2 separate regions of the Homo sapiens genome follow, and region 1 is linked to region 2. The links are contacts of gene promoters, found by promoter capture Hi-C in blood cells and fetal thymus (Javierre and others, 2016). All regions are on one chromosome and are shown on one strand. The core of a region is centred on a gene start or on the middle of the fragment in contact, and the rest is flanking DNA. Distances in the headings are between cores, read along the strand shown.

Evidence for each region. Contacts are between HindIII fragments. The CHiCAGO score rates a contact against its expected background, and 5 or more counts as called.
Region 1: a contact is called between the fragment with the promoter of IGFL2 here and the fragment with the promoter of PPP5C in region 2, in 3 of 17 cell types (neutrophils, M1 macrophages and M2 macrophages). The highest score is 8.3, in neutrophils.

Annotation. Positions count from the first base shown.
Region 1 is chr19:46,146,340-46,151,210 of GRCh38, forward strand. IGFL2 (IGF like family member 2) reads left to right here and starts at 1,899. Exons shown (of 4, transcript NM_001135113.2): 1 at 1,899-1,958. The coding sequence starts at 1,940. The HindIII fragment of the contact is 5,659 bases long and covers 1-2,131 here.
Region 2 is chr19:46,344,059-46,348,831 of GRCh38, forward strand. It overlaps PPP5C (protein phosphatase 5 catalytic subunit), which reads left to right and starts at 3,029. Exons shown (of 13, transcript NM_006247.4): 1 at 3,029-3,159. The coding sequence starts at 3,039. RefSeq lists enhancers at 2,867-3,046, 3,147-3,276. The HindIII fragment of the contact is 16,758 bases long and covers 1-4,773 here.

The DNA.
Region 1 (4,871 bases), core at 649-3,148, 200 kb before region 2:
CTACACTGTTGTCATTACTGTAGCTTGAGTAATTGTGAAATTGGATAGTGTGAGTCCTCTACCATCTTTCCTCATCCAAAATTGTGTTGGCCATTCTAGTTTCCATTGCTTTTCTATATAAATTCTAGAGTTATTTTGTTTCTCTCTCAGACAAATCCTGCTTGGGTTTGATTGGAATTGTGTTAAATCTGTAGATAATTTGGAAAGAATTGGCATCTTACCTAAATTACAGATTCCAAACCACGACATGATATACCACTCTGTATTTAAGGTTTCCTTGAATACTTTAATCGTACACATCCTTTATATGTTCTCCTAGATTTACAGTATACCAGTTCAGTTTTTGGGGAGGGGGGTATTGTAAATGGCATTTTTTTTCTTTAAATTATTGTATCCACTAGTTCTTGCCAGTATAAAGGAATACAATTGACTTCTGTGTGTTTCATACGCTACAACCTTTCTAAATTCACTTATCAGGTCCAGAACTCTTCTACTAACAATGCACTTTTATAAAGCCCTAACACCTCTCCTGATCTCTGTCTCACCCTCCCACCTATCTCACTGTGGGATGGGAAGGAAGTCAATGGAAAACACAGGAGCGCATTCTAATAATAGCCCACATGGTATCCAGTGACACAAATAATAGTGATGGTGACAATAAAATAACAGTAAGAAACACAGAAGGAGCGTTTCCTTGGACAAAGCACTCCAGAAACAACAACAAAAAGGGGCTGCCTTTCCATCTATTCTATGAATCCCAGATGTCTATTTTATCACTGTCTGTTCCTTTTCTGTTCTCCCTGGCAGGGTTTTTACAGCCCCTGCTCTTTTTCTAGATTATGCTGCATCTTCACAGTTTCCCCTAAATGACTCTGAAGAATTATAGACAGTGCTGTCTACAATTATAATAATGGATATGGTGGTCCATTTCCAAGACAAAGTACCTCAGATAGGCTGAGGCCCACAAACTATGGAAGGACAGAATATACTAGGCCCATAGCTGGTGCATGCTTGTCGGGGTCCCCTTAGTTACCCTCTCCCAAACCAGAGTTTAGTCTAGAATGAAAGTTTACTAGCCAGCAAAATAGCTCACTTTATCTATTCTTATCAGCTTGCCTGACTGCCTAGGTCATAAGTCAAATACTTGAAAAGCCCTCGAGCTGGCTTTGATTGCAATGTATTATAGGCTGCAACAAAATGCAGTGAGACAATCCTAAAGAAAACACCTAAAAGCCTCAACCCAGCAACCAATAGGCGACGTCTGGGAAGATCGTGACCCCATCGTACTTAGCCTACGAGGAACCAGGGGAGAGACTTGTGCACTAGGGGATAAATAGCTTGTTGTAACCGTACTGGGTGTGCCTGCCTACCAGACATTCAATCTTGCAAGACCATCATTAAAAGTCTTGCTTCCACTGTTTTCTGTGTCTCTGAGTCCATTCTTTGGGTTTGGACGGGTGCGTTTGTTTCTCATAGTGCAGGTCTGGAGCCGGACTGAGATGGGGAGTAGAGGGACCCCTTGAAACTTCAGGGTGGATGAATATGAAGTTTCATCACCAGCTGTGATGTTTGGTGAGTAGTATGCTCTCAGATAAGTGAGAGCCAAGGAATCTCTTTCAAGTCTCTTTGCCGTGGGCAGAGTTCAAAGAATGACACTCACTCACGGCTTTGAAAGGTTCTAGGGAAGCCTTTACTCTGAGATTTCGAGAGGTCTGAGAAGGTAGCAGTCACTTGGAACAGGTCCAGGAACATCTTACTAAGCTGTTGATGCAGTTTTTTCTTATGCTTTCTGTGGCTTCTCATGCCCCACCCTTTCCAAGAGGCCAGTGCTTCTGGGCACCTCCCTAAATGTGGATAAGTTCATAGCCTACATAAGTCCCTGTATAAAGTCACTGACCCATTTGCACTGCTGCTGTCCCATCAGCTGCTCTGAAGCTCCATGGTGCCCAGAATCTTCGGTAAGGTAACCCTTGCCCCAGGTTGAGCTAATGCCTACTGTTATCCCTAATGTACCTCTGAACCTCAAACTTAATTCTCTCTTCCCTATTTAATTCTTGGTTTCCCACCTCATAATCACCCGTGTCCTCTCTGACTGCATTGCAATCTCTCTTCCCCACCTGCAAATTCCAGAAGCTTAACCCTTTCCAGAGCCCTCCCTGCATTTCCTCACCTGCCAAGCCCAATGCCCAGAACCTGCACACAGAGTCAGTCCCAAAATCTGCTCTGAGCTGTTACAGCAACCAAAGAAACTCAGAGACATCATCTTGTGCCCCATGATCATGATCTGGTGACCCCAGAATCACTGTCATTCTTCTCTCAGCTGATCTTTATTTTTGAACTCCTGGGCTCAGACTCAGAAGGGACCATAGGTGAGAATGGGTGTGGTGAGTGGAGGGAGAAGAAAGGAGGGAGGATTATAGCACTGTGGATAGGGTTGGGGGCTCCCAGAGGTCCCCTGCCAGCTCATCAGCTCTGACTCTTCCAGATATTGGACTGTGGTTGTGCCAGTTGACACTCAGGAGTGGAGACTAGATCTGCAATCTGTTGGGACTGTGATGAGGGGATCATCCTGCCCTCGAACCAGACCCAGCCCTGTAGCCCAGGCACTATTGCCTGGAGTTCCTGGGCTCTCAGCGCCAGGAAATCATGAGGTTCAGTGTCTCAGGCATGAGGACCGACTACCCCAGGAGTGTGCTGGGTAAGTAAGGGCAGCCCAGGCAGTGGACTGAGTTTTGTTGTGTGTATTCCATCAAGATGAGCAATGCCTGCTGTGTTCACTAACTTCTTTTTGGGCAACCATCTCTCTCTCTCCCTCTCTCTCTTCTCTCTCTCTCTCTTCTCTCTCTCTTTCTCTCTCCCTCTCTTTCTCTCTCCCTCTCTTTTCTCTCTCTCCCTTTTCTCTCTCTCTCTCTTTCTCTTTCCCACTCACCCCTCACCCTTTCCACCTCTCCCCCTCTTCCCCTCTCCCCCTCCCCCTCCCCTCCCCATCTCCCTGTGTCCCTCTGTCTCACATCCCCCTCTCTTCTCTTCCCCTCTCCCCTCCCTGTCTTTTCCCTCCTCTCCTTCCTTCTCTTCCTTCCTCTCTCAAGTTGAAGGAAGAGTAGCTCAGTCATCTTCCAGAATTGCTTTTTACCTCCGAGTCACCTGGCTCCATAGCCCCCGACCACCGCATGCCCATTTAGCTGTTCCTCTCTTTCCCCTCTACCCTCACCCTTGGCAACCACCAGTCAGCTTTCTGTCTCTATGGATTTACCTATCTGGGACATTTCATATAAATGGAATCACACCATTTATAAGTGACCTTTCGTGTAACTTTTTTTTTAACTTAATGTTTTCAAGGCATATCCCCATTATAGAATTTATTAGTACTTCATTCCTTTTTACAACTGAATAAATTCAATTGTATCCATGTATCAGCATTCATTTATCCATTCATCTGTTGATGGACACTTGGGCTGTTTCCACCATTTGGCTATTGTGAATAGTGCTGTTACAAACATATGTATACATGTATTTGCTTGAGAACCTGTTTTCAGTTATCTTGGGTGTACACATAGGAGTGGAATTGCTACGCCACATGGTAATTCTGTTTAACTTTTTGAGGAATTGGCAAACTGTTTTCCACAGAGCTGCATCAATTACATTCCCACCAGCAGTGTATGAGGGCTCACATTTCTCTCCAGATTCTTCAACCTTTGTTATTTTCTATTTTCCTGTTTATTACAGTCATCTGGGTGGGTGGGTGTGATATCCTGTGTAGTTTTAATTTGCGTTTCCTTGGTAAATAACAATGCTGAGTGTCTTTTCCATGTGCTTATTGGCCATTTGTATTCCTTTTTGAGAAAAGGTTTATTCAGATTTTTCCATGTTTAAATTGGGTTATTTATTTTATTATTATTTAGTTGTAAGAGTTTTAGAAGATATGCTGGATACTCATCCCTTATCATATATATAATTTGCAAATACTTTCCTCATTATGTGGATTGTGTTCATTTCCTTGATGCTATTGCTTGCAGTGCATAGGTTTTTAATTTTTGATGAAGTCTATTCTTTCTTTTCTCTCTTGTGCTTTTGGTGTAATATCTAAGAAAATATTACCTAACTCGAGGTCATTAAGACTTACTTGTATGTTTTCTGCTAGGAATCTTTTTAAGAAGTTGACAAAGAATAATTGTGTATATTTATGGGGTAAAATATGATGATTTAATGTATGTTTGCCTTGTTAAATGATAAATCAAATTAATTACCATATCTACCACCTAATATACTTATTACTTTTTGTCACTAGAACATTTAAAATATACTCTTCAGCAATTTTGAAATATACAACACACCATTTGTTTTTTTAAGAGGCAGGGTCTCACTCTGATGCCCAGTCTGGAGTGCAGTGGTGTGATCACAGCTCACTGCACCCTCTACCTCTGAGGCTCAAGTGATCCTTCCACCTCAGCTCCCAAGTAGCTGAGACCACAGGCACGCACCACCACACCATGCTAATTTTGTTTTTCATAGAGACGATGTCTCACTGTGTTGCCCAGGCCGGTCTCCAACTTGTAGGCTCAAGCAACCCTCCTCCTTGGCCTCCCAAAGTGCTGGGATTGCAGGTATGAGCCATCACGTCCAGCCCACAATACACTATTATTTATTATAGTCACCGTGCCCTGCAGTGGATCTCTAAAACCTATCTTTCCTGTCTAACTGTAACTTCATATCATTTGCTTATCTCCCTGTTGCCCATCTGCCCACACCAATCCTCTGGTAACTGCCCTTCTCTCTACTTCTATGAGTTCAACTCTTTTAGATTCTACATACAAGTGAGATGGTGTGGTATTTGTCTTTCTGTGGGTTGCTTATTTTACATTTCTGCTAAG
Region 2 (4,773 bases), core at 1,779-4,278:
CATGTTGCCCAGGCTGGTCTCAAACTCCTGGGTTTAAGCGATCCTCCTGCCTCAGCCTCCCAAAGTTCTAGGATTATAGGCTTGAGCCACTGCACCAGCCCCATGTTACTTTCTGATTCTGTGTATCTGTATGTGTGTGTGTGTGTGCATGCACACGAGTGTGTGCACAGTGTCATTCTGTGTATGTGTATGGGTCTTTGTCACATTCTGTGAACCTGTGTTGCAGCAGGTGGGTGGGGTTGTGATTCCTTCTACAAGTGCATATTAGTATCTGGGTGAAGTGATTCTGCCTTATGTGTGTTTCTGGTTATTTTGGGTTTCTGTGTTTCTGAGTGTGGAAGGTGCTGTGATTTTTTTTTTTTTTTTTTGCCTATGTATGTCTGTATGATGTGATTCTGTGTACATGTGTGGGACTGCTTGATGCTATAATTCTGGGTACCAATGTGTGTGTGACATGATTGCCCATAGTTAAGTGAGCATGTGTGTGCAAGAGTGTGTGTCCATGGACTCATGTGCAGGTGGGTGTGTCTGTTGTCATGTACGTCACTCTCATAACCCCCCATACAGGGTTGCACATAGGAATCTCTTCAAGGGAAGAAAAACACTCTCAAGCCTTTGCACTTCCTATTCTTCTGCCTGAAATGCCTCTCTCCCTTCCCCTCTCCCCTCACTTGGTTACCTCCTACTCATATTTCACATCTTGGTTTAGGTAACAGCTACTCCAGGAAGCCTTCCCTGCCTGCTCCAATTGGGTAAAGTGCCCCTAAAAGCTCCCCTTGGAAGCCCCCTCCCATCACAGCACTAGGCACTCTGCCCAACTCTGAATATTTGTTTTGTTTTATTTGTTTTTTGAGACAGAGTCTCACTCTGTAGCCCAGGCTGTCGTGCAGTGGCGCGATCTCGGCTCACTGCAGCCTCCGCCTCCTAGGTTCAAGCAATTCTCCTGCCTCAACCTCCCTAATAACTGGGACTATAGGTGCGCACCATCATGCCCAGCTAAATTTTTGTATTTCTGGTAGTGACGGGGTTTTGCCATGTTGGCCAGGCTGGTCTTGAACTTCTGACCTCAAGTGATCTGCCTGCTTTGGCCTCCCAAAGTGCTTCGATTACAGGCATGAGCTACCATACCCAGCCCACTTTGAGTATTTGTGATGGAGTGAATATAAAAGTACTACTCTGTGTCAGGCTCCCTGACAAATGCTGTACTCATGTTGTCGAACTCTCCTCTAATCCTGTATGATGGGGATAATTATTATCCCCACTTTACAGAGGTTGAAACTGAGGCTTAGAAGAGGGTGATCACTTGCCCAAGGTCACAGTGTCAGGAAGGATTCCGCTGGACTCGAAACCAGAATTCAAATCCACTATGGCAGCTCCTTTTCCCCCAACCCCAAAACAAACAATACGAACAAACAAAAGAAAAATTTACTAACCCACCAAGATGGGCTCTGGCACCTACAGAGGCAGTAGAGTGGCAATGAAGGACATAGGAATTAGATGGGATTCCTGATCCTGGCTCTGTCACCTTCTTATGTTGTTGTGACCTTCGTCAAACACCTCTGCAAGTCTGTGTCTTTATCTGTAAAATGGAGATGATACTAATATCTGCCCTTTAGGGTGATTGTTGGTTGTGCTGGGGGCCAGTAGGAGAGATGGGGTTGGACTAACAAGAGGTTTGGGAGTGGGATAGATAGGTTTAGGAGTGTGCTTCCAGGAGGGGATCCAGAGCCTTACAGGACTTAGTGCTACATGAGGGCTTAGAAAGGACAGACTGGAAGCGTGTACGGCGGGTGGGGATTGGCAAAGGGGTGGAATCTGGATATTAGACTATTCAGCCTGAGGTTAAGACTATTCAGGGTCTCCTAATCAGGAGTTTGGGTTTTCTCCTAAGGGTGCTGGGGCCATGGAAGCCTGGGAGCGAGAGTGTGCCATGGTTTTATCATGTCTTAGAAAGATCCCTCGGCCGGGCACGGTGGCTCACGCCTGTAATCCCAGCACTTTGGGAGGCCGAGGCGGGCGGATAGCTTGAGGTCGGCAGTTCGAGGCCAGCCTGGCCAACGTGGTGAAACCCGTTTCTACTAAAATACAAAAATTAGCCGGGCATGGTGGCGGGCGCCTGTAATCCCAGCTACTTGGGAGGCTGAGGCAGAAGAATCGCTTAAACCGGGAGGCGGAGGTTGCAGTGAGCCTAGATGGCGCCACTGCACTCCAGCCTGGGCGACAGAGGGAGACTCCCTCTCAAAAAAAAAAAAAAAAAAAAAAAAATGTGAAGGGTAAACTGGAGGGAGGCAGAGTGCATGCAATCAATGCTGTGATCTCAGACAAGAGAATCTGTAAAAACACAAACAGGAGAGTTTATTTGAAGATTCAGGATTTGGGAAGCTGAACACAGGAAGAAAGGAGATGGTGCAACACACTTCTAAGCCTTGCTCAGGACTTGAAATCCAGAGTGCCTTCAGTTAAAAACTCAAACACTGACCCTCAAGGTTGGACCCTTTTTGGCTTGAGAAACCACTAATTTTTCAGAGATGGGTAACTGAGACCCTAGAGAGGAAGGGAAGATTTGTTCAAGGTCACACAGGTAGTCGACAATAGGGCTCGACGCCCGGGTCCGGCTCCGCGTAGGGCATGGCGCTGCCTTGCAAAACAGCCACACCCGCCAGCGACATTCACAACCCACCCCCCAACCCTAGAGGACAGCGGGGAAATCCCACTTTCAGAACCGAGAAACTTTTTACAGCCTTGGAACACGGTAACTTTGGGAGGAGAGGCCACACCAGGTCTGTTTCCCCGCGCGCCCCTTCTCTCATTCCCTATTGGCTCTCTCTACCAGGGGTACCGTCTGGGGAACCTCTGGTCACCTTGTCCTCCGCGCGCTCTGTGGCGAAAGGGACCTGCGCAGGCGCGTGAAGGGCGCCTTCAGGGCCCGCGCTTTACGACACTTGTGCGGCAGCGGCGGCGGCCACCCGGCGCTCCTTCGCGACGGTTCGGCCGGGTGCCGCTGGCGGCCGTTGCCAGGGTAGGGGTCGCTTTGCGGCATGGCGATGGCGGAGGGCGAGAGGACTGAGTGTGCTGAGCCCCCCCGGGACGAACCCCCGGCTGATGGAGCTCTGAAGCGGGCAGAGGAGCTCAAGACTCAGGCCAATGACTACTTCAAAGGTGCGCCCGCCTGGCAGGGAGGGTGGACAGTGGCCCAGGCTGAGGGGTGCCGGGCCCGCGCGGAACCATAGCAACGCGGAGCTGCAGCCTGGGCGCGGGGCAGACACTACCAAGTGACCGGGCGTGGGGAGGCCCAGGATGGCGCTGCCAAGGAGCGACATAGGGGGCTTCGGAGAGTGATACCTAGGAGTGGCGTGCGGAGCGGGTGCTACTCAGTGGAGAGACTGAGGAGGGCGCCACCAATTGTGGGGCGAGAGGGGGACTGGAATGAGGGCGCTACCAAACGTGAGGCCTGTAGAGGGCGCTACCAGGCAGTGACATGTGGTGGGGGAGTGATTGATGGCGCTACCAAATGGGGAGTCCTGGGGTGGGTGCCGCCAAGTGGGGGGTAGAGGGGGCACAGCCCCAATAGAGAAGGCAATCGTGGGGGTGGGGAATGGATCATTAGATGGGGGGAACAAGGAAGTAGGAGATTTGGGCTGACCCGAGGAAAAGGAATGTGATGGTGGGGGCCTTGGGAGTAAGGGTGGGGATCCTTAAGAATAGTATCACTTAGAATATTGAGAGTCAAGTGTGGGGCACCCATTCATTCATTAATTCAACAAATATTTATTGAGTACCTGTTATGTGCCAAGGACTGTGCTTGACTTTGGGGATATAGCAGTGAATGAGACAGATGTGGCCCTGTCCTTAGCTTGTAATTTTGCAGGTGAACCAGACATGAAAAAAAAAAAAACAAAAAAAAACCATGTAAATAAGTAAAATACTTAAATTGTGATGAGTGCTTTGAAAGCAAACCAGCAGTGTGATGAAGTAGAGAATAAGGGTTGGAGGCTACTTTAGATAGGGTAGTGGGGGAAGGCCTTACTGAGCAGGAGGCGTTTAAGCTGAAACTCACAGAGGGAGAACTGGAGAGGAGTGTTCCAGGGAGGTAAAGCAGCCTGTGCAAAGGCCCTGGGATGGGGAATGAAAGGGTACTGGCATGGCTGGGGCTTTGGCTACTTAGGGGGAGACCAATAACAAGATGAGATTAGGACAGAGGCCAGATCATGCAGGGTCTCCGTGAGTCATTACAAAGACCAGTTTGGAATTTTTTTTTTTTTTTTTTTTTTGAGACGGGAGTTTTGCTCTTTTTGCCCAGGCTAGAGTGCAATGGCGCAATCTCGGCTCACTGCAACCTCCGCCTCCCTGGTTCAAGCGATTCTCCTGCCTCAGCCTCCCGAGTAGCTGGGATTATAGACGCACACCACCATGCCCAGATAATTTTTGTACTTTTAGTAGAGATGGGGTTTCGCCATGTTGGCCAGGCTGGTGTCGAACCTCTGACCGCAGGTGATCCGCCCATCTCGGCCTCTCAAAGTGCTGGGATTACAGGCATGAGCCACCACGCCCAGCCCTACAAGAAGACACATTAAGTAAATGGGCCAGTCTGGACTGGAGAAGAATTTGGGTGTGATCAAACTATGGTTGGGAATGGATGAGATCATCTAGTAAGAGGGTCTAGAGGGGGGACTTAGGACAGAACCCAAATGGAAGAGGGTGAGGCTAAGGAGGAGCACTTAGTGAGGTGGAAAGGAAGCCAGGAAAGGTGTCGGGAAGGCTGAGAGAAGGGAG